7 separate regions of the Homo sapiens genome follow, and regions 1, 2, 3, 4, 5 and 6 are each linked to region 7. Evidence: promoter capture Hi-C in 16 types of primary human blood cells and fetal thymus (Javierre and others, 2016). All regions are on one chromosome and are shown on one strand. Each heading gives the region's core, a stretch centred on a gene start or on the middle of the fragment in contact. The rest is flanking DNA. Distances are from core to core; before and after follow the strand shown.

The links. Contacts are between HindIII fragments. The CHiCAGO score rates a contact against its expected background, and 5 or more counts as called.
Region 1: a fragment that was not itself captured here is called in contact with the fragment with the promoter of TGFB1I1 in region 7 in 7 of 17 cell types (naive CD8 T cells, total CD4 T cells, fetal thymus and 4 more); the score reaches 9.8 in naive CD8 T cells.
Region 2: a contact is called between a fragment that was not itself captured here and the fragment with the promoter of TGFB1I1 in region 7, in 2 of 17 cell types (naive CD8 T cells and non-activated CD4 T cells). The highest score is 6.3, in naive CD8 T cells.
Region 3: a fragment that was not itself captured here is called in contact with the fragment with the promoter of TGFB1I1 in region 7 in 1 of 17 cell types (non-activated CD4 T cells); the score reaches 5.9 in non-activated CD4 T cells.
Region 4: the fragment with the promoter of PRSS36 here is called in contact with the fragment with the promoter of TGFB1I1 in region 7 in 4 of 17 cell types (monocytes, naive CD8 T cells, endothelial precursors and 1 more); the score reaches 8.1 in monocytes.
Region 5: a fragment that was not itself captured here is called in contact with the fragment with the promoter of TGFB1I1 in region 7 in 12 of 17 cell types (neutrophils, naive CD8 T cells, M0 macrophages and 9 more); the score reaches 15.9 in neutrophils.
Region 6: a contact is called between a fragment that was not itself captured here and the fragment with the promoter of TGFB1I1 in region 7, in 4 of 17 cell types (M1 macrophages, activated CD4 T cells, M2 macrophages and 1 more). The highest score is 7.1, in M1 macrophages.

The regions. Positions count from the first base shown.
Region 1 is chr16:31,070,611-31,073,321 of GRCh38, forward strand. All of the region lies in intron 1 of ZNF668 (zinc finger protein 668), which reads right to left. It also overlaps a transcript of ZNF646 not described here. Among named protein-coding and RNA genes, the nearest start is that of ZNF668, 2.3 kb to the right of the region's middle. RefSeq lists enhancers at 2,506-2,711, 2,598-2,711. The HindIII fragment of the contact is 265 bases long and covers 1,196-1,460 here.
Region 2 is chr16:31,124,905-31,127,604 of GRCh38, forward strand. KAT8 (lysine acetyltransferase 8) reads left to right here. Exons shown (of 11, transcript NM_032188.3): 4 at 2,131-2,184; 5 at 2,285-2,449. Among named protein-coding and RNA genes, the nearest start is that of KAT8, 8.6 kb to the left of the region's middle. The HindIII fragment of the contact is 7,764 bases long and covers 1-2,700 here.
Region 3 is chr16:31,174,339-31,177,038 of GRCh38, forward strand. It overlaps the pseudogene NDUFA3P6. Among named protein-coding and RNA genes, the nearest start is that of FUS, 4.4 kb to the right of the region's middle. The HindIII fragment of the contact is 8,665 bases long and covers 1-2,700 here.
Region 4 is chr16:31,148,692-31,151,391 of GRCh38, forward strand. PRSS36 (serine protease 36) reads right to left here and starts at 1,375. Exons shown (of 15, transcript NM_173502.5): 1 at 1,308-1,375; 2 at 1,005-1,040; 3 at 772-807; 4 at 382-544. The coding sequence starts at 1,344. RefSeq lists enhancers at 9-546, 547-1,082, 1,083-1,619. The HindIII fragment of the contact is 9,446 bases long and covers 1-2,700 here.
Region 5 is chr16:31,882,175-31,884,905 of GRCh38, forward strand. It overlaps ZNF267 (zinc finger protein 267), which reads left to right. Exons shown (of 4, transcript NM_003414.6): 2 at 2,324-2,450. Among named protein-coding and RNA genes, the nearest start is that of ZNF267, 9.7 kb to the left of the region's middle. The HindIII fragment of the contact is 4,868 bases long and covers 1-2,731 here.
Region 6 is chr16:31,837,939-31,840,638 of GRCh38, forward strand. No RefSeq gene overlaps it. Among named protein-coding and RNA genes, the nearest start is that of ZNF267, 35 kb to the right of the region's middle. The HindIII fragment of the contact is 2,976 bases long and covers 1-2,700 here.
Region 7 is chr16:31,470,873-31,473,572 of GRCh38, forward strand. It overlaps TGFB1I1 (transforming growth factor beta 1 induced transcript 1), which reads left to right and starts at 1,280. Exons shown (of 11, transcript NM_001042454.3): 1 at 1,280-1,329; 2 at 2,569-2,684. The coding sequence starts at 1,317. RefSeq lists an enhancer at 1,619-2,159. The HindIII fragment of the contact is 20,246 bases long and covers 1-2,700 here.

The DNA of each region.
Region 1 (2,711 bases), core at 78-2,577, 400 kb before region 7:
GCTCACTCCAACCTCCGCCTCCCCGGTTCACGAGATTTTCCTGCCTCAGCCTCCCGAGTAGCTGGAATTACAGGCATCCACCACCACGCCTGGTTAATTTTTTGTATTTTTAGTAGAGATGGAGTTTCACCATGTTGGCCAGGCTGGTCTCGAACTCCTGACCTCAGATGATCCACTGCCTCGGCTTCCCAGAGTGCTGGGATTACAGGCATGAGCCACCGTGCCTGGCTTATTTTTATTTATTTTATTATTTATTGTTATTATTATTTGAGACAGAGTCTCCCTCTGTTGCCCAGGCTGGAGTGCAATGGTGTGATGTCAGTTCACTGCGACCTCTGCCTCCTGGGTTCAAGCAATTCTTCTGCCTCAGCCTCCCAAGTATTTGGGATTACAGGTGCCTGCCACCACAGCCAGCTAATTTTTTGTATTTTTAGTAGAGATGGCCATGTTGGCTAGGCTGGTCTGGAACTCCTGACCTCAGGTGATCCACCCACCTTGGCCTCCCAAAGTGCTGGGATTACAGGCTTGAGCCACCATGCCCGGCCTATTTATTTCATTTTTATTTATTTATTTTCTTTGAGAGAAAGTCTTTGTTGCCCAGGCTGGAGTGCAGTGGCTGCATCTCAGCTCACTGCAGCCTCCACCTCCCGGATTCAAGTGATTCTCCAGCCTCAGCCTCCCGAGTAGCTGGGACTACAGGCGAAAGCCATCACACCTGGCAAACTTTTGTATTTTTAGTAGAGACAGGGTTTCACCACATTGGCCACGCTGGTCTCGAACTCCTGACCTCAAGTGATCCGACCGCCTCAGCCTCCCAAAGTGCTGGGATTACAGGCGTGAGCCACCGTGCCTGGCCTTTATTTTTATTTAGAGATTGGGTCTCACTCTGTCACCCTGGAGTGCAGTGGCTCAATCATAGCTCACTTCAGCCTCAAACTCCTGCACTCAAGCAATCCTCCTGAGTAGCTAGGACTATAGGCACCCACCACCACACCTCGCTAATTTATTAAAAATTCTTTGTATATAGAGATGGAGGTCTCACTACGCTGCCGACAGTGGTCTCAAGAACTCCTGGCTTCAGATGCTCCTCCACTATGGCTTCCTAAAGTGCTGTGATTACAGGCATGAGCCACAGTGACCAGCACCCCTCCTCTCTAATTTCCTTTATGGTGTCATCTGGACAATACTCCTTGCAAGCTTACCATGGGCAAGGTATCATTCTAAGCATTTTGTGCATAATACTCAACTACTCAAGCCAACTGCACAGCTGCCTAGCAGTTCATTATGAGTGAATGTTTGTGTTCCCTGTCCATTCATATATTGAAATTCTAACTCTCATTGTGACTGTATTTGGAGACAAGGCCTTTATGGAAGTAATTAAGGCTGAATGACGTCATAAGGGTATGGCCCTGGTCCAGTAGGATTAGCGTTCTTATGAGAAGTGACACCACAAAGAAACAAGCTTACTAGTCACGGTCCCAGCCAGTGTTCAAATCCCAAACACCTGCTCTCTGAGCCCTGACTATTGCTTTGCTAGCATTACACATCTTATGGTTTGGCTGTTAATTCTTCATCACCAGCACCAGAGTCCAGGCTGGCAAAGGGCTAGGAAACCGATCATCTGCCTCCTCTACACCCAGAACCCTGTGTGGTGACCCAAAACAAATGGAAAGAACCAACCTCAGATGAAATTTGAACCCAGGTCTGTAGCCTCTGCCTCCTCCACAGTAGGAGTTTGTGAGAATGTCCACCAATAACTGTTTATTAACTAAATTCCTCCACCTTTCCAACTCCACAAGGCTCAACTATTGCCCCAATATCCCACAGTGGGCTCCCTGTCGTGGCGATGAAGCCTTGCTTTGCCTCACTACTGGCTTAGGAAGGGGATGAAGTTCTGCTGTCTCACTAGGCAAGCAAAGATTCAATTTCCAAAAATCCTAGGCTAGGACCCTGGGGCAGGGATGAGGAGAAAAAGGAGGCACCTCAATCTTCCCATCTCTAAACAAGCAGTCACCACACAGGCCTCACGGCCAGGAGTGACGTAGTGAGCGGATGAACCCTGCAGAAGTGAGCGCTAATCATATCCTAGGCCTCCTACCGGGCCAGTTCACAACCTGATCCCAACCTACTTTTCCAGCCTCAGCTCCAGCGACAGAGTCCTCCTCCCGGCAGCGACCGAACCTCCAGCCACAATTCTCAATCCTCCACCTCTAGATGCAGTTTCCTGGGCTCGGGGAGCCCTTGCCTGCCTTCTCCAACGGGAAAGCCCCTTTACATCCTTCAAGAACCCCCTTCCCTAGTGCCCTCAGGAATACTTTATGGCAGTAGAGAGGTAAGGGCCCCACGCCGCTCTGGACCTCAGTTTCCTCATCAGTAAAATGGGGTCCCTTAAGTTTGTGGGAGTTTGAAGGGCGGTGGGGCCTACGAAGCGCGCCGAGGAGCCGAGAGTTGCAGAAACCCGGAGCTCCTCGCTCCTCGCAACCGTCTGTACGCGGCGCCCCCGCCAGCCAGGCAGCCCCTGGAGGGCAGGACCCCGGTTATAAGCCTCAGAAAACGTGGCTTCGGAGGACGTGGCAAGGAGGACTGAACGAAGGATGAGGAGATGAACAAATGAATGGACGGAAGGCCGAATGAGGGACAAAGGCTTGCAAGATGGCGTTCTCTAGGACCGCGGGAGTGGTGGCCGGGCCTCAGCAGGGGAGGGGGCCGCC
Region 2 (2,700 bases), core at 12-2,511, 350 kb before region 7:
TGTAATCCCAGCTGCTTGGGACACTGAGGTGGGAAGATCGCTTGAACTCAGGAGGTGGAGGTTGTAGTGAGCCAAGATTGCACCATTGCTCCAGCCTGGGCAACAAGAGCAAAATTTCATCTCAAAAAACAAAATAAATTAGCTGGGAATGGTAGCAGGCACATGTAGTCTCAGCCACTTGGGAGGCTGACGTAGGAGAATCACTTAAGCCCAGAAGGCAGAGGTTGTGGTGAGCTGAGATCTCCCCACTGCACTCCAGCCTGGGCGACAGAGTGAGAGTCTATCTCAGAAGAAAAAAAAAAAAACATGTCTGTGCCGTGCTTGCCACTTGGAATAAATGGCAGCTCACTAGTCCCCGAGGGTAAGGGACCTCACCTTGCCCTGCCTGTTTACTACTCTGTAAAATTGAAATAACGCAGCTGGGTGCAGTGGCTCACGCCTGTAATCTCAGCACTTTGGGAGTGCGAGGCTGGTTGATCACCTGAGGTCAGGAGTTTGAGAACAGCCTGGCCAACATGGCGAAACTCCATTGCTACTAAACATACAAAAATTACCTGGATGTGGCGGCATGTGCCTGTAGTCCCAGCTACTTGGGAGGCTGAGGCAGGAGAATTGCTTGAACCTGGGAGGCGGAGGTTGCAGTGAGCCGAGATGGTGCCACTGTACTCCAGCCTGAGCAACAGAGTGAGACTCCGTCTCAAAAAAAAAAAAAAAAAAAAAAGAAATAACACTCTATGTAAGGGTTACTGAAAGGATTAAATGAGGCCATATAAACATATAGGCACAGTGCTTTGTGGAGGGGGTTCTGGGTAAAGCACTGGCTCCTTCCTCCCTTCTCAGCTACAGGGCAGGGCCTTGTCTGCCCTGGTGTAGGTCATGGACCGTCTTGGGTCCCCCTTCCATTGTCAGGCTGTACTGGGTTCCTCCCACAGGGTCTGGCCTAGGAGCAGGATGTGTTGTGAGTGTGGTGTGACTCTTAGTCTCTGCTTTCTAAGGACTTGAAAAATAGAGGAACCCAGGTGGGCATACTTGGACAGTGTTGCCCTGTTGACCACTTCTCGCTGAACTTGGGAAGGAGGGAATGTTTTCTGGATGGGAAGAATCCAGTCAGGCCTCCTGGAGGGGGTGGTAAGAATCTCAAGCCTTGAAGGATGGGAAAGAGCACAATAACAACAGTGACAAAGGATAGATCACAAAGCATCATGGACTCACCTGACTCATGCTCCGTGCCAGGCTGAGGAAGTGTTTTCTGCTGGCAGTGAGAGAAGGAAGGGCATTCTCCAGGTAGAAGGAGCTGTTTGTGCAGAAGCATGAAGGCCGCTAAAAGGGGGCTGCTGATAGCAATGAGGAGGCTGGGGCTGGAGGCAGGGAGTCTGAGGCGGCCTAGTAAATTGTCCAGACCTGAGATGGGGCCATGACTACCTGGAGCAGGACAGAGAGGAGAATTCCAGAGAGGGCCCAATTCCAGAGATGTCAGAAGTAGACTCGACATCCACTGTATTAGGACTTGGCCAGGCCGAGGGAGAGAGAGTAGTCTGAGGCAAGCCTAGTTATGGGTCTTGGACACTGGGACCAAGGGTGATGTTCCCAGTAAAATGAGCAACCCAGGAGGAGGCGCAGGTTTGCAGGGAGGAGTGATGAGGTCCTTTCTGCACATCTTGAGTCCGCTGTCCCTGTGGGAGGGACCTCTGGGGCAGTCGCATGGGCAGGCAGGGTCTGGTCCTCAGGAAAGGGGTCCAGGAACATCGGGGAGGTAGTAACAGTTCTTACGCTGGGCCTGGAAGGCAAATCTGTTATTTCATTTGAGTCTCACAACTTTGGCAGAGCTGGATTGCCCCCCATCGTGCAGCTGAAGCCCCATCCTGATCCTAACCCTGTTCATCTGGCAAAAGGTCCAAACTTGGACATCAGGGATGTCTGGGATATCGGGGGTGGGGCGGGTGGGTGTGAGAGGAGTCTGGACCAGCCAGCTTCAGAACCAAGTCAGATAGGTTAGCTATTGGTGTGGTTATTATTGCCATCCAGGAATGAGGTCTGGTAGACGGCAGGGAAGCCTTGTGGGTCCTGACGGGAGGGACAGCCTGGTCACCACTTCTGTTCACCTCTGCCCACTTTTCTTTCCTGGCCCAGACTTATGCAGAGATGGACCCCACCACAGCAGCCTTGGAGAAGGAGCATGAGGCGGTAAGTGGGGCTGGGAAGCTGCCTGCAGGTCCCCCGTCTCCCCTTGCCGAGGAGCCCCTGCTGAGCCGTGCACTGTGCCTCACTCCCACCCTGCCTGCAGATCACCAAGGTGAAGTATGTGGACAAGATCCACATCGGGAACTACGAAATTGATGCCTGGTATTTCTCACCATTCCCCGAAGACTATGGGAAACAGCCCAAGCTCTGGCTCTGCGAGTACTGCCTCAAGTACATGAAATATGAGAAGAGCTACCGCTTCCACTTGGTGAGGCTGGGCCGGCCGGGCCGAGCTGGGCAGGGGCCCGGTGAGAGGCAGAGGCAGGCATGGAGACTGAGGGCGGCTGCGCCGGCAGCTCCAGGGAGGAGACAGGCCCAAAGGAGCGAGTACAGGGAAGAGCTGCTGGGGGTCAGGAGGCCTGGATTCCAGGCCTGGCTTTGCTGTTGCTGGCAGGGTGACCTTGCCAACTTCAGACCTCAGCTCCTCTTCTCTGGAATGGGGACAGTAACTCACCCCCT
Region 3 (2,700 bases), core at 194-2,693, 300 kb before region 7:
CAACATGGTGAAACCCCATCTCTACTAAACGTACAAAAATTAGTTGGGCGTAGGGGCACGTGCCTATAATCCCAGCTACTCGGGAGCCTGAGGCAGGAGAATTGCTTGAACCTGGGAGGCGGAGGTTGCAGTGAGCCGAGATCGCGCCACTGCACTCCAGCCTGGGTGACAGAGCAAGACTCAATCTCAAAAAAAAAAAAAAAGGCCGCTGTCATCACCACCGAGACCAAGAAGGCCACGAGACTCAGCACCTTCCTCAAGATTTCCTGGGCCAAGGAGCCAGTGCTGGTCTTGTCCTCTGTCATCCGGAGCCTCACTGTAATTCTACCCCCACTTAGTCCCCACACCAAGTACTCCATCATGATCAACGAGGCAAGGCCCTACAACTACCCAGTGCCTGTCTGCAATGATGGGAACATGCCCGATGTGCCCAGCCACCCCCAGGACCCCCAAGGCCCCAGTTTGGAGTGGCTGAAGAAATTGTGAGCACCTCCACTGCCAAAGGAGGACCCTCCCATGGCTCCCACTAGAAATGTGAAAACCAACCTCTCCCTGCTCAAAAAAAAAAGAAAAGAAAAAGAAAAATTGCATTAAATATTTGATCTAGGCCAGGCGCAGTGGCTCATGCCTGTAACTGTAACTCTAGCACTTTGGGAGGCCGAGGCAGGAAGATTGCTTGAGGCCAGGGGTTCAAGACAAAACTGGCCAACAAAATGAGACCTTGTCTTTAAAAAATAAATTCTGGGGCTGGGCGCAGTGGCTCATGCTTGTAACAGCACTTTGGGAGGCCGAGGAGGGGTGGATCACGAGGTCAGGTGTTTGAGACCAGCCTGGCCAACATAGTGAAACCCCGTCTCTACTAAAAAAAAATACAAAAAATTAGCCAGGCGTGGTGGCGGGTGCCTGTAATCCCAGCTACTTGGAGGCTGAGGCAGGAGAATCGCTTGAACCTGGGAGGCAGATATTGCAGTGAGCCGAGATCGCGCCATTGCACTCCAGCCCAGGCAACAGTGCGAGACTCCATCTCAAACAAATATATATAAATATAAATAAATATATATATATATGTAACTTCCTGGCACGATGGCACAGACCTGTAATCCCAGCACTTTGGGAGGCCGAGGCGCGTGGATCAGGAGGTCAGGAATTCAAGACCAGCCTGGCCAAGATGGTGAAACCCTGTTTCTACTAAAAATACAAAAAATTAGCCAGGCGTAATGGTGGGAGCTTGTAATCCCAGATACTCGGGAGGCTGAGGCAGAGAACTGCAAACTCCGGAGGCGGAGGTTGCAGTGAGCTGAGATTGTGCCACTGCACTCCAGCCTGGGTGACAGAGGGAGACTCTGTCTCAAAAAAACAAACAAAAAAATTAAATAAATAAATTAAAACTAACTAACTAAATAAATATCTGGATATCTGAGCTGGGTGCAGTGGCTCATGCCTCTAATCCCAGCACTTGGGAAAGCAAGGCAGGCAGATCATTTGAGGTCAGGAGTTCGAGACCAGCCTGGCCAACATAGGGAAACCTCATCTCTACTAAAAAAATTAGTTGGGTGTGGTGGTGCACATCTGTAATCCCAGGTACTCAGGAGGCTGAGGCAGGAGAATTGCTGGAACCTGGGAAGTAGAGGTTGCAGTCAGCTGAGATTGCAGCACTGCTCTCCAGCCTGGGTGACAGAGTGAGACTCTGTCTCAAAAAAAAATCAATATCTGATATACGTGTTTATTTTTTTATTGAGATGGAGTCTTGCTCTGTCGCCCAGGCTGGAGTGCAATGGCACAATCTCTGCTCACCGCAACCTCTGCCTCCCTGGCTCAAGCAATTCTCCTGCCTCAACCTCCCGAGTAGCTGGGACTACAGATGCGCGCCACCATGCCCGGCCAATTTCTGTATCTCTAGTAGAGATGGGGTTTCACCAGGTCGGTCAGGCTGGTCTCGAACTCCTGACCTCATGATCTGCCCACCTCAGCCTCCCAAAGTGCTGGGATTACAGGTGTGAGCGAACGCATCTGGCCCAATATCTGATATACATGTTAATTGAAACTGGGTGTGGTGGTCACACCTTTAATCACAGCACTTTGGGAGGATTCCCTTGAGCCTAGGAGTTCAAGACCAGCCTGGGCAACATAGCAAGACCCTGTCTCAAAAAAGAAAAATTTAACATTGACTTTCCTGTCAGAGATAGGAAGTAAATAAGACATTTATGGTGAACTTAAAGCACATATGGCAGCTAAAGGTGACAGTGTCTCACTCCAGCTGACCCTTGCCCTATGGAAGTGGGCCTGGAATGGCCCACTATTTTTAGTGTTGGCAACTAGTTAAAAAAATTAAAACATTCGAGGCAGGTGGATCACTTGAGATCAGGAGTTCGAGAACAGCCTGGGCAATATGGTGAAACCCCGTCTCTACTAAAAATAGGAAAATTAGCTGGACATGGTGATGCATGCCTGTAATCTCAGCTACTCGGGAGGCTGCAGCACAAGAATTGCTTGAACCCGGGAGGCAGAGGTTGCAGTGAGCTGAGATCACGTCACTGCACTCCAGCCTGGGTGACAGAGTGAGACTCCATCTCAAAAAAAAAAAAAAAAGAAAGAAAGAAATGGCCATTTGATTTAGTCTTTCAGAGTCACATATTTTTTTTTTTTTGAGGCCGAGTCTCATCTGCCACCATGCCCAGCCCAGAGTCACAGCTGGAGCCT
Region 4 (2,700 bases), core at 125-2,624, 320 kb before region 7:
CAGTAGGAGGTTAGGTTGACCCTATGGAGGGGGCAGACCCTCGTTGGGGGCAGGGGCTCAGAGCCAGAGGGGCAGGTGCTATCCGATCCAGATTTGGTGCTGATACTCCTCAAAGGGGAAGAGCAAATCCGATTTGGAGCTGGTGGTGGGGGGGTCATTGGAAAGATGGGATTCAGACCCGGATATTGAGTGGAGTGGTGGGACCAGTCCGGCAGCCTTGCCCCACTCGGAACCATGATGCCTCGAATAGCACCTCGCTTTGGGGACAGCTTGGCTCCAAATTATCCTTGAGGACGGAAGTGGGGCGGGAGGAGGGGACCAACTGCGGGGGCGGGGGCCAGCTTTTGGCGGAGAGGGGCCAGGACCAGGGCGAATACTCACGTCATGAAACAGTGAGCAGCGGAGAGGACCCAGGAGGGGGCGATGAGGGAGCCCCCGCAGATGTGGCCACCTCCATGGTGCAGGCTCACTTGCCAAGGCCAGGTGCCCGGCTGCGCGTTTGAGCCCCCCACGATGCGGGCCGAGGGCTCAGGGCGCCCGCAGTCTGCAACGGGGAGCCGTGGAAGCCAAAGCTCCCCTCGGGTTCCCCACTCCAGAAGCCCAGGTAACTCAGGACGAAGGCCCGTCCTCCACCCACTTCAGTTTGCCCCTCTGAACAAAGAACATAGAGGACCCAGGCTTGTCTACATTTCTGGTCTTTTCCACCTCCCTCATGGCCTGACCAGCCTTAGCCTCCTTTAAGGTCTGAGGGTGCCAAGGCCTCTTCCTTACCCAGATCTTCAGGTTCTTCCTGGGTAGGACTGAGAGCTGGGAGCCAGAGGGGAAAGAGAGGAGGACACTTGTGACTTCCAGGCCTGCACCGCCCAGCCCCACTTCCTGCTCTCCAACCCCCGACCCTATCTTCCCACTTCCCTGTCCGTTCAGCAACCCCTGCCAGCACCCATGCCAGTCCTCTGGTCTTTTCTGCCTCTGCACGTGACTTTCCCCCAGTCCGGCTACCTTACCTGAGTCCTGGAAGGCTCCTGGGATGGGACTGATGACTGGAAAGACAGAGGTAGGCAGGAAGAGGCTGGCGACTCGCACTCAGTATGTGCCCTCCCTGACTCCCTCCCCCAGCCTCCTAGCCTCCGTCTCCCCAGGGCACCCAGGCCTCCCTCTCCCTCCTCTGATACATCCTCGCCTTCTGCTGCCTCACTTCCTTCTCTCTGACTTCCTGCTCCCCACACAGAAACCAGGAATCCTGCTCTCCAGCCCCCCAGATGCCAGGACCCAGGCCCTTTGCAGCCACTCTTGTCCCCTGAGGTTACCAAGCATCACAAGGGGGAGGAGCAGGTGCCGGGCCATGGCGCTAGAGTCAGCGGAGGCAGAGCCAAGTGAAGGTCTGCTCCCTGCAGGGCTCTGTCACTGCCCAGGCAGCCCGTGACTCCTGATGGTCCCAGGGGCAGCCCCACCCTCCCTGGCTGGAGCCCATCTCTGGGAATCTGAGAGGATCTGGGGCTGGAAGGGGGAAGCTGGGGAGCCTGAAGGCCCCACCCAGAGCCCTGCGCACATCTCATGTCTCTGGAGGCCCAGGGTGGGGGTGGAGGACAGGTGTCCTAGCTCCTGGACACCTGTTGGGTGGGAGAGGGAGGGATGAAAAACACTGCAGGCAAAGGTCAAAGAGGAGGACAGTGTTCTGTGTCCTTGGTGAGCAGTGGCCCTTAGGACAGGGGAAGTGGCCCCTCACGGGCATGACTCATCGGAGACCTCACCTCTGTTTGGGGTGCGGCTGCCCCAGTGGCTTGGCCTTTTCTTCTCACACAGCTCTGGTTACTGGAGCTGCTGGCCAGGTCTGGGACAGGAGCCCTAGGGAATTCAATCCCATCCCAACAAAAGGATCACAGATTCCAGCAGGTTGGGCAGGGCATAGGGACCCTGGGAGGGGGCTGGGCAGGCTGGCGAGGCTGAAAAAGCCTCCACCCTGCTCTGTGTTCCAGTGACAATGCTCTTAGCTGCCCTGTCACTTACTCTGTGTGACTTTGGGAAAGTAACCCAACCTCTTGGTGTGTATCAGTAAGAGCCAGTTTAAGGGACATATGACTTGGCCGAGCACGGTGGCTCACTCCTGTGATCCTAACACTCTGGGAGACTGAGGTGGGAGGATTGCTTGAGGCTAGGAGTTCAAGACCAGCCTGGTCAACATAGCAAGACCCCATCTCTACAAAAAATTAAAAAATACAAAAATTATGAACTGCAGGGCGTGGTGGTGCACGTCTGTATCCCAGCTACTCGGGAGATGAGGTGGGAGGATTGCTTGAGCCTGGGAGGTCGAGGTTGCAGTGAGCTATGATTGTGCCACTGCACTCCAGCCTGGGTGACAAAGCGAGACCCTGTCTCAACAACAACAACAAAAAGAAAAAAAAAAAGAAGAATAAGAAGAAGAAAGAAACATATGGCTCTTCAAAGAGGAGTTGAAGAGAGTTTAAGGAAGAAACTATTTATAGAAGTGTAGGCAGGGTCAAAGGAAACCAAAGAGGCTGGGTGGCTCACGGCTGTAATCCCAGCACTTTGGTAGGCCGAGGCGGGCAGATCACCTGAGGTCAGGAGTTCAAGACCAGCCTGGCTAACTTGGAGAAGCCCCATCTATACTAAAAATACAAAAATTAGCCGAGTGTGGTGGAACTCACCTGTAATCCCACCTATTAGGGAGGCTGAGGCAGA
Region 5 (2,731 bases), core at 202-2,701, 410 kb after region 7:
CATACTGTGAGCACATAGTACAAGCTCAATAAACACTGCTTTAATGCATGTATCCGTGCTGTTTTCCAAATGCTGACTTAGACATAACTGTCTTCTCCAGTCTCTGTATCTGTAGACTTTAAATGGCTGGCAAAGGGTGTGATCTTTCAGGACAGTGGTTGGTGGTCCTCACTGTGAACGAAAAGTATTTTTGTTGTGATTAGAGTATTGGGCGTAAGGGACTCTGTGCTGTGTCTGCTTCCTCTAGCTGAGTGCTATTGATAATGGGTCTAGGAGGAGCAACATCAGCATTGACAGGGGACTTGTTAAAGAAGCCAGTTCATGGAAACTTTCCAAACCTGCAGAATCACATTACTTAGAGGGGGCCCAGAATACCAAATGATATGTATGCGTATTGAACCTTGAGAGGCAATGCTTAGCTAAGTGATTCTCAGCCCAGGCTTCTAAGTAGGGTCACATAACCAGTTTGAAGATCTATGGTCACCTGTATCTTCCCCCACAGATTGTTTTTTTATGATTATATTAAGATTATGATTTACTGTTCCCCTCCGCCCATATCACAGCAATGATTATGGGCCCATCTGTGCATTAGCACTGGTACCAATTTGTCTTATTACAGACGATGCTAACTTCATTCACTTGGTGCAGGTGCTCTCTGTCAGATTCCTTCGCTATAAAGTTAATCATTTTTCTCTTTGTAATGAGTATCTAGGAGGGAGGATTTACTGAGTGATGTCTATAAACCATCACATTTAATCCAGAGACTCCCATTTCTTTTTGGTTTCCCTTTGCTTGTAGCTTTCTTTGCAGAGTAAAGGCTCTCACATTTGTTGACAGGAGATAACAGCTTTTAAGACTGGAAGTTCTGAAGCAGGTCTCAGTTCTGTAGGTTTCCATTTTATTTCATCTCATGTCACAAGCATATGCTTATTTATTCTCTATATTTTCAGAGAAAGAACAAGAATTAACATATAACAAATATGTCTATTGTCTTAAAATTCTAAAATATATAATAGCACATAGAATAAACATAACAAAAACTTGAAAAAAAATACCAGACTCAGAAACAAGAGCCTTTACTTTATTTCATTGTATGTATTGGTCTTTATAAAGGCATCACAAAAAAGGCATCACCCACAAAGAGTTTTATAGTTTTTATACAATTTAAAATATTTTTAAATTTTATTTACACAGAAATATTATCTTACTTTTAGTGTGTATATAGTTACCATTATGTGCACATATGCACATAAAATGAAAGCATTATTCGATCACTATTGTGTGGCTGCTTTCTTGTTTTCGTTACTCAGTTACGAAATCTTCTCTGAACATTCTGTTAAGGTTGTCTCTGTATATTGGCCGGTATGTCCCTTTGAGATAAATTCTAAATCAGATAAACTGAGGCAAAATACAAACTACTATGTAGCAAATATTTGGAAAATAATTTTTATATAAGAGGAAGAATATAATTTTTCTCAGATTATTTATTGGGTTTTATATATGTAAACAACTTTTAGGATGATATCTGATATATTGTGCATGTTCAAAAAGGATTACTACCATTCTAGCTGTTATAACTTGTAAATTTCATAAAACTCTCAGTTTCACATCATGCCTGAATTCTTTCCTCAGTGTTCGACCTCTCTGCTATTCAAAAGTGGCTTTGGGGCCTGAAGCATTAACACTACTGGTGAACTTGTTAGACATGCAGATACTCAGCCAGCCATGGTGGCTCATGCCTGTAGCCTTAGCTACTCAGGAGGCTGAAACAGGAGGATCGCCTGAGCCCAGGAGGTTGAGGCTGCAGTGAGCCAAGATTCAACCACTGCACTCCAGCCTGGGTGGCAGAGCGAGACCCTGTGTCAAAATTAAAAATTAAAAAATATGGAAATGCAGAAACTCAAAATCTAGATCTCCTGAATCAGACTCTGCCTTTGAAGAAGATCTCCAGTTTATTGTTGTATACTATACAATTTGAGAAGTATGCCTCTAAGTCACCATGACTTTTGCACCTGAGAATTATACACAGCTGATTCTGGATGATGTAAATATAGCACCCAAAAATGTATATTCCTGTGTTGATGCCTTAGTTTTATATTTTACATTTGATATAAATATCTACACTAGTTTTGTGGATTTTATGTTATTTTCTTTCCACAGAGTTTGAGACTACATTAGAAAATATTACTGTGTTAAAAATGATCTTACTGAATAATTCAGGTCACTCATATATGTCAGAACCAATAACTGTCATTTCATCTTGGGACAAATGAAGAACTCTGCCATGGCCACATGGTCAGTGTATTCTTTATTTTTATTTCAGGGACTGTTGACATTCAGGGATGTGGCCGTAGAATTCTCTTTGGAGGAGTGGGAACACCTGGAACCAGCTCAGAAGAATTTGTATCAGGATGTGATGTTAGAAAACTACAGAAACCTGGTCTCTCTGGGTGAGGATAACTTGCCTTCGGAATATCTAATAACTAAGAGTTTTATTTTCTTTTCAGAATGTCCCTTGGGATCTTGTGCTTTGTATGAGTTAGTTTTAGATTCTTGTTTTCAGGAAAAAAATAGGGGTTTTGTTGAAGTAGAAAAAATTTCATAATGTTTGATTTTGACATTCGCCTTTTTATTTGAGGTGATGTACAAGTTTCACTCTAGTCGTGATTCTAGAAATTGGTTGACATAAACTATTGTTGCTTACACTTTAAAATCCAATTTTTTTTGTTTG
Region 6 (2,700 bases), core at 194-2,693, 370 kb after region 7:
AATAATGGGAGGAAATACTTATGTTTCAGGGGACTAATATCCAGAATTTACAAGGAACTCAAACAATCCAACAAAAAAATAATAAATAGTCCTGTTTAAAAGTGGAAAAAGGCTGGGCATGGTGGCTCATGCCTGTAATCCTAGCACTTTGGGAGCCTGGGGCGGGTGGATCACCTGAGGTCAGGAGTTTGAGACCAGCCTGAACAACATGGAGAAACCCCGTCTCTATGAAAAATGCAAAAATTAGCCAGGCGTAGTGGCGCATGCCTATAATCCCAGCTACTCAGGAGGCTGAGGCAGGAGAATCGCCTGAATCTGGGAGGTGGTTGCAGTGAGCCAAGATTATGCCAATGTACTCCAGGCTGGGCAACAAGAGCAAAACTCTATCTCGGGGAAAAAAAAAAAGTGGAAAAAGGACATGAATAGACATTTTTCAAAAGAAGATATTCAGATGGCCAGCAGACATATGAAAAAATGCTTAACATTACTGATCATCAGAGAAATGCGAGTTAAAACCACAATGAGAAATCATCTTACACTAGCCAGAATAGCTATCATTAAAAAGACAAGCCGGGCATGGTGACTCAACGCCTGTAATCTCAGCACTTTCGGGGGCTGACGCAGGCAGATCACGAGGTCCGGAGATCGAGACCATCCTGGCTAACACGGTGAAACCCCGTCTCTAATAAAAATAAAAAAAATTAGCCAGGCATGGTGGCACGCACCTGTAGTCCCAACTACTCAGGAGGCTGAGGCAGAAGAATTGCTTGAACCTGGAAGGTGGAGGTTGCAGTGAGCTGAGATTGTGCCACTGCACTCCAGCCTGGGTGACAGAGTGAGACTCCATCTCAAAAAAAACAAAAAAAAAAAGACAAAAAATAACAGCTGTTGGTGAGGATATAGAGAAAAAAGAACCCTTACACACCGTTAGTGGGAATGTAAATTAGTACAACCTCTGTGGAAAACAGTATGGAGATTTCTCAAAGAACTAAAAATAGAACTACAATTCAATCCAGCAATCCCACTACCTCGTATCTACGTAAAAGAAAATAAATTGTTATATCAAAAAGATACCTGCCCTTATATGTTTATTGCAGCACTATTCACAATAGCAAAGATATGGAATCAACCTAAGTGGCCATCAATAGATGACTGGATAAAGAAAATGTCACACATACACACACCATGGAATACTACTCGTGGAAGACAAAAAATTAATAAAGAAATGGGAAACTTGAATAACACTATACACCAAATAAACTTAACAGACATATACAAAACTTTTCACCCAACAGCAGAAGAATATATATTCTTCTTAAGCATACATGCCACATTCTGCAGCACAGTCTGGCAAGAGACACCTCCACCAGGTGGGACAGGGAAGTGAACACTGGACCCTCCCTTGGACCCCAGCACCAGCCCTTTACCCGACCCCAGTGAAACCCAGCACCAAGAAGGCCCCCATGACCCCAAAGTCCAGGCTGGCATCAGCAGACTGAGCTGCCAGGTCCACCAAGGCACTGGGTTGGATTCTGCATCCTCAAGCTCCAGGCCTTCCTGGAAGGCTTGGTCTCCAGGCCAGCCCCACCACCAGGCCAGCCCCAGTGGCCATGGGCCTCAGGCCTGCCCTAGCACAGGCCAACCTCTACAAACCCAGGCTCTCTGCCTCTCCTCACATTCTCAGGCTCCAGGCTAGCCTCACAGACTGTCTCTGGGCCTTCCCCAGTATCAGGCCAGCCCCAATTGACCCAGACTTTGAGCCACTCCCAGCACTAGGCTTCAATCTGCCCCAGCACCAGGCTGGCTCCACAGCCCTACATCATCAGGCCAGTACCCATGGACCAGCCTCCCGGACTACTCCAGGGTCCAGCCAAGCCCAGAGCCAGGTTCACCCCTTCAGCCCCAGGCTTCAGCCTGCCCCAGCCCTAAGTTGGCACCCTGTCATCACGCACCAACCTGGCATCCATGGACACAGGCTCCAGGACTGCCTCCATGGCCCCATGACCCAGGCCACCCCTCGAAGACCTAGCCTCCAGGCCAGCACTGCATACCCAGCTTCCAGACTATCCCCTATGGACCAGGCTCCAGGCCAGTATCCACAATCCCAGGCTCCAGACACACCCCTGCAAACCCAGGCTCTATGCCTGCCCCAGCACCAGGCTAGCCTTAGGCTTCAGTCTAGTCCCACGAACTTCAGACTCCAGTGAACCCAGGATCCATGCTCACCCAAGTGAACTCCAGTTCCAGGTCAGTCACTGCAACCTGAGGCTCCAGGACTACCCCTGCAGACACAGGCTCCGGCTATCCCTGGTAGACCCAGGCCCCAGGACCCTGCAGACCTAGGGCCACCCCAGCACTAGACCAGCTCCTTTGTATTCAGGCTCCAGTCCTATCCCAGTTAATCCAGTTTCCAGATGGCTTCACTGAAGAATTCTACCAACATTTTAAAAACTAAACCTTCTCAAACTCTTCAAATAAATTAAAGAAGAAGGAATACTTTCAAATTCGTTTTATGAGGCTAGCATTACCCTGATGCCAAAGCCAGACAAGGATACTACAAGAAAAGAAAATTACAGGCCAATATCTCTGATGAACATAAATGCAAAAATCCTCAGCAAAATACTAGCAAACAAAATTCAACAGCACATTAAAAAGATTATTCACCATGATCACATGGAATTTGTCACAGAGATGCAAGGA
Region 7 (2,700 bases), core at 30-2,529:
TATTCTTGACACAGGGTCTCCTCTGTTGCTCAGGAGTTCAGTGGCACAATCTCAGCTCACTGCAGCCTCTGCCTCCAGGTTTCAAGCAATTCTCCTGTCTCAGCCTCCCAAGTAGCTGGAATTACAGGCTCCCACCACCACGCACAGCTAATTTTGTGTTTTTAGTAGAGATGGGGTTTTGTCATGTTGGCCAGGCTGGTCTCGAACTCCTGACCTCAAGTGACCTGCCCGCCTTGACCTCCCAAAGTGCTAGGATTATAGGTGTGAGCCACCATGCCTGTCTCGCATTTTTAAAAAGCTCCCCAGGTTGTTCCGATTTGCTGCTGGGTTGATACTCACATTCCAGTGCTCAGATCTGTCCAGAAGAGTGGCTGCAGCACAGTTGTCTGTCCATAACTACCTCTATGGCCTCTCGTTTCCACCTCGTTTCTCAGGGTCTCAGTCCAGGGAAGGCCTTGCCACTTTGTGGCTGGAGACTGTGTCTTGCTTTCTGCTCTGAGTTCATCAGTAACTTGGGAAAGGGCTGTTTCAGAGCAGGCCTGGGCCACCTCAGTGCTGAGGAAGGGCTTTGTCTTGCAGGCTGGCTGGGGGTTGGTTGCCTGGGAGTGTTTTCCCCGAATTTGCAAGGGGCTTGCGCCCGGGTTCGAGTTTACGTGTGTCCATGACCAAGTCTTGGAGGGAAGGTCCTAGTGTAGAGTCTGTGGGTGGGTTCACTGTGTCTGTCCCCGTCCCTCAGATTTCTTTGTGTCTGGTATGTATGCCTCTTGGGGCCTCTATTTATCTGTCAGGGTCTCCGATGGGAGGGTCTCCGAACCTGAGGTCTAATTGAGCCTTAGAATATCACTCCTGCTACCAATCCAAAAATTCCGTCTGGGACAAGTCTCCCAGGAATGGCATGGGTGGGAGGGAGGCTCTTGTCTAGGACTCAGGCGCTAGCTTTGAGCGGTGTCTGTTTGGGGGCCTCAGTCCGTGTCTGTAAGTCTCCCTAGGGAGCGGCTCTGGGGCTTGGTCTGGAGAAGCCACTTCTCTCTGGCTCTGGCCTCCTGGGGCTCCCTGCAGCTGAGGCCAAGGCTGGGGTGTGGCCGCCTCCGCGGCAGGCCGGCGGGCTGGGCTCGGGTGGGCCGGGGCGCTCCCTCCTTTCCACGCCCCCACCTCGGGTTCCCCCGTTCATCGCCCCCCCATCCCCATCTCAGCGGGTCCCGGCTTCCTTACATGGTCACGGCCGGGCTTCCAGCTCCCGGACGTCCCCCGCCCCCCGCCCCCACCGGACACGGCCCCCGCCCTGTTCGCCCCGCGCCACCGGCCCGCGCCCCGCCATGGAGGACCTGGGTGAGTGGGGCCGGATCCCCGGGTCCGTGGCCCCTCACCGCTGCCCAGAGCTGCCTCCCCGCCGTCGCTCTCCCGCATCTCCCCATCCCTGTCTTCTTACTTCTGCTTTTCGCCTCTGCCCGCGCCTCCTTTCCAACTCCACGTCCCCCTTCCTGCCTCTCCCTTCCTGCCTTTCCTGGGCCGGCCGCTCCCTCCCTTCTTCCCTCGCTGTGCTCCTCCATCCCAGGCTGCGGCAGATGGAACGGGAGGTGCGGCGCCCGCGGGCGCCCGGGCGCGGGGCTCTGGGGAGGGAGGGGTTAAAGGGGCCTCGGCCCGGGGACCGGGAAAGTAGAGGGCACGGGAAAGTCTGGCATCAAGTTTTGGAGAAAAAAAGCGGGCCTGCCTGCACCAGAGTTTTGGGAGAGGAGGAGTTAAGGGCTCCTGAGCACAGTGAGGGTCAGGTCCTTGAGGCAAGGAAGAGAATAGTAACTCAGGAGTGCCTAGGCGCCCGCGAAGGCTTCAGGGTTTCACGCGGGTGCTCAGAGACGAAGACTGAGGGCAGGACTTCTGGGTTCTGGAAGTGAAAGGGCTCAAAAGACCCGGATCTGGGGATGCAGGGATGGAGAGAGGTGTCTTGTCCGGAAGGGGGACCCAGGTATCTCGTCCTCCCTGCGAAGCCTGGGGCTGGAAGGCTGTGCGCTCCACGGGAGAGAGGGGCTTCCGGCCCCTGGCGGTAGAGGGCGCTGCTCGGTAGGGGTAACTGACGCTGTACCGCAGATAAACAGCCAATCAGAAGGCAGGTCCCAGCGAAGCGCCAGTGAGGAGCCCAGGGCGGGACTCAGGGGCCTGGGAGTGGCCAGGCTGGGCGGGGCCTGTGTAGGTAGAGGGAGGAGTTAACCAGCATGGAAGAGAGAGCGTCCAATCAGAAAGCTGAGGGCCAGGCACTGGGCCAATGGAGCAATTTGGAGGGGAGCCAAATTTGGCTTGGGTGAAGAGCCCATTTTGACTGCATCAGAGAAGATGGGGAGAATAAAATAATCAGGAGGCTGGGTTTGTGCTTGGCTCCAAGCGTGAGCAACTGGGATATTCTGGTCATAAATATTCCTTGCTACCCTTCGAGCAGTGCTCTGCCTGGCTCTGGCCCTGTGACCTCTTCTCTTAATACTGGCTTCTGTCCTTCTCCAGTACTGCCCACTGGGAACCTTATCTTCTGATCTAACCGTGACCCTTGTCTCTCTCCCTGATGGCCTCTTCCTGCAGATGCCCTGCTCTCTGACCTGGAGACTACCACCTCGCACATGCCAAGGTCAGGGGCTCCCAAAGAGCGCCCTGCGGAGCCTCTCACCCCTCCCCCATCCTATGGCCACCAGCCACAGGTGAGATCGGATGTTG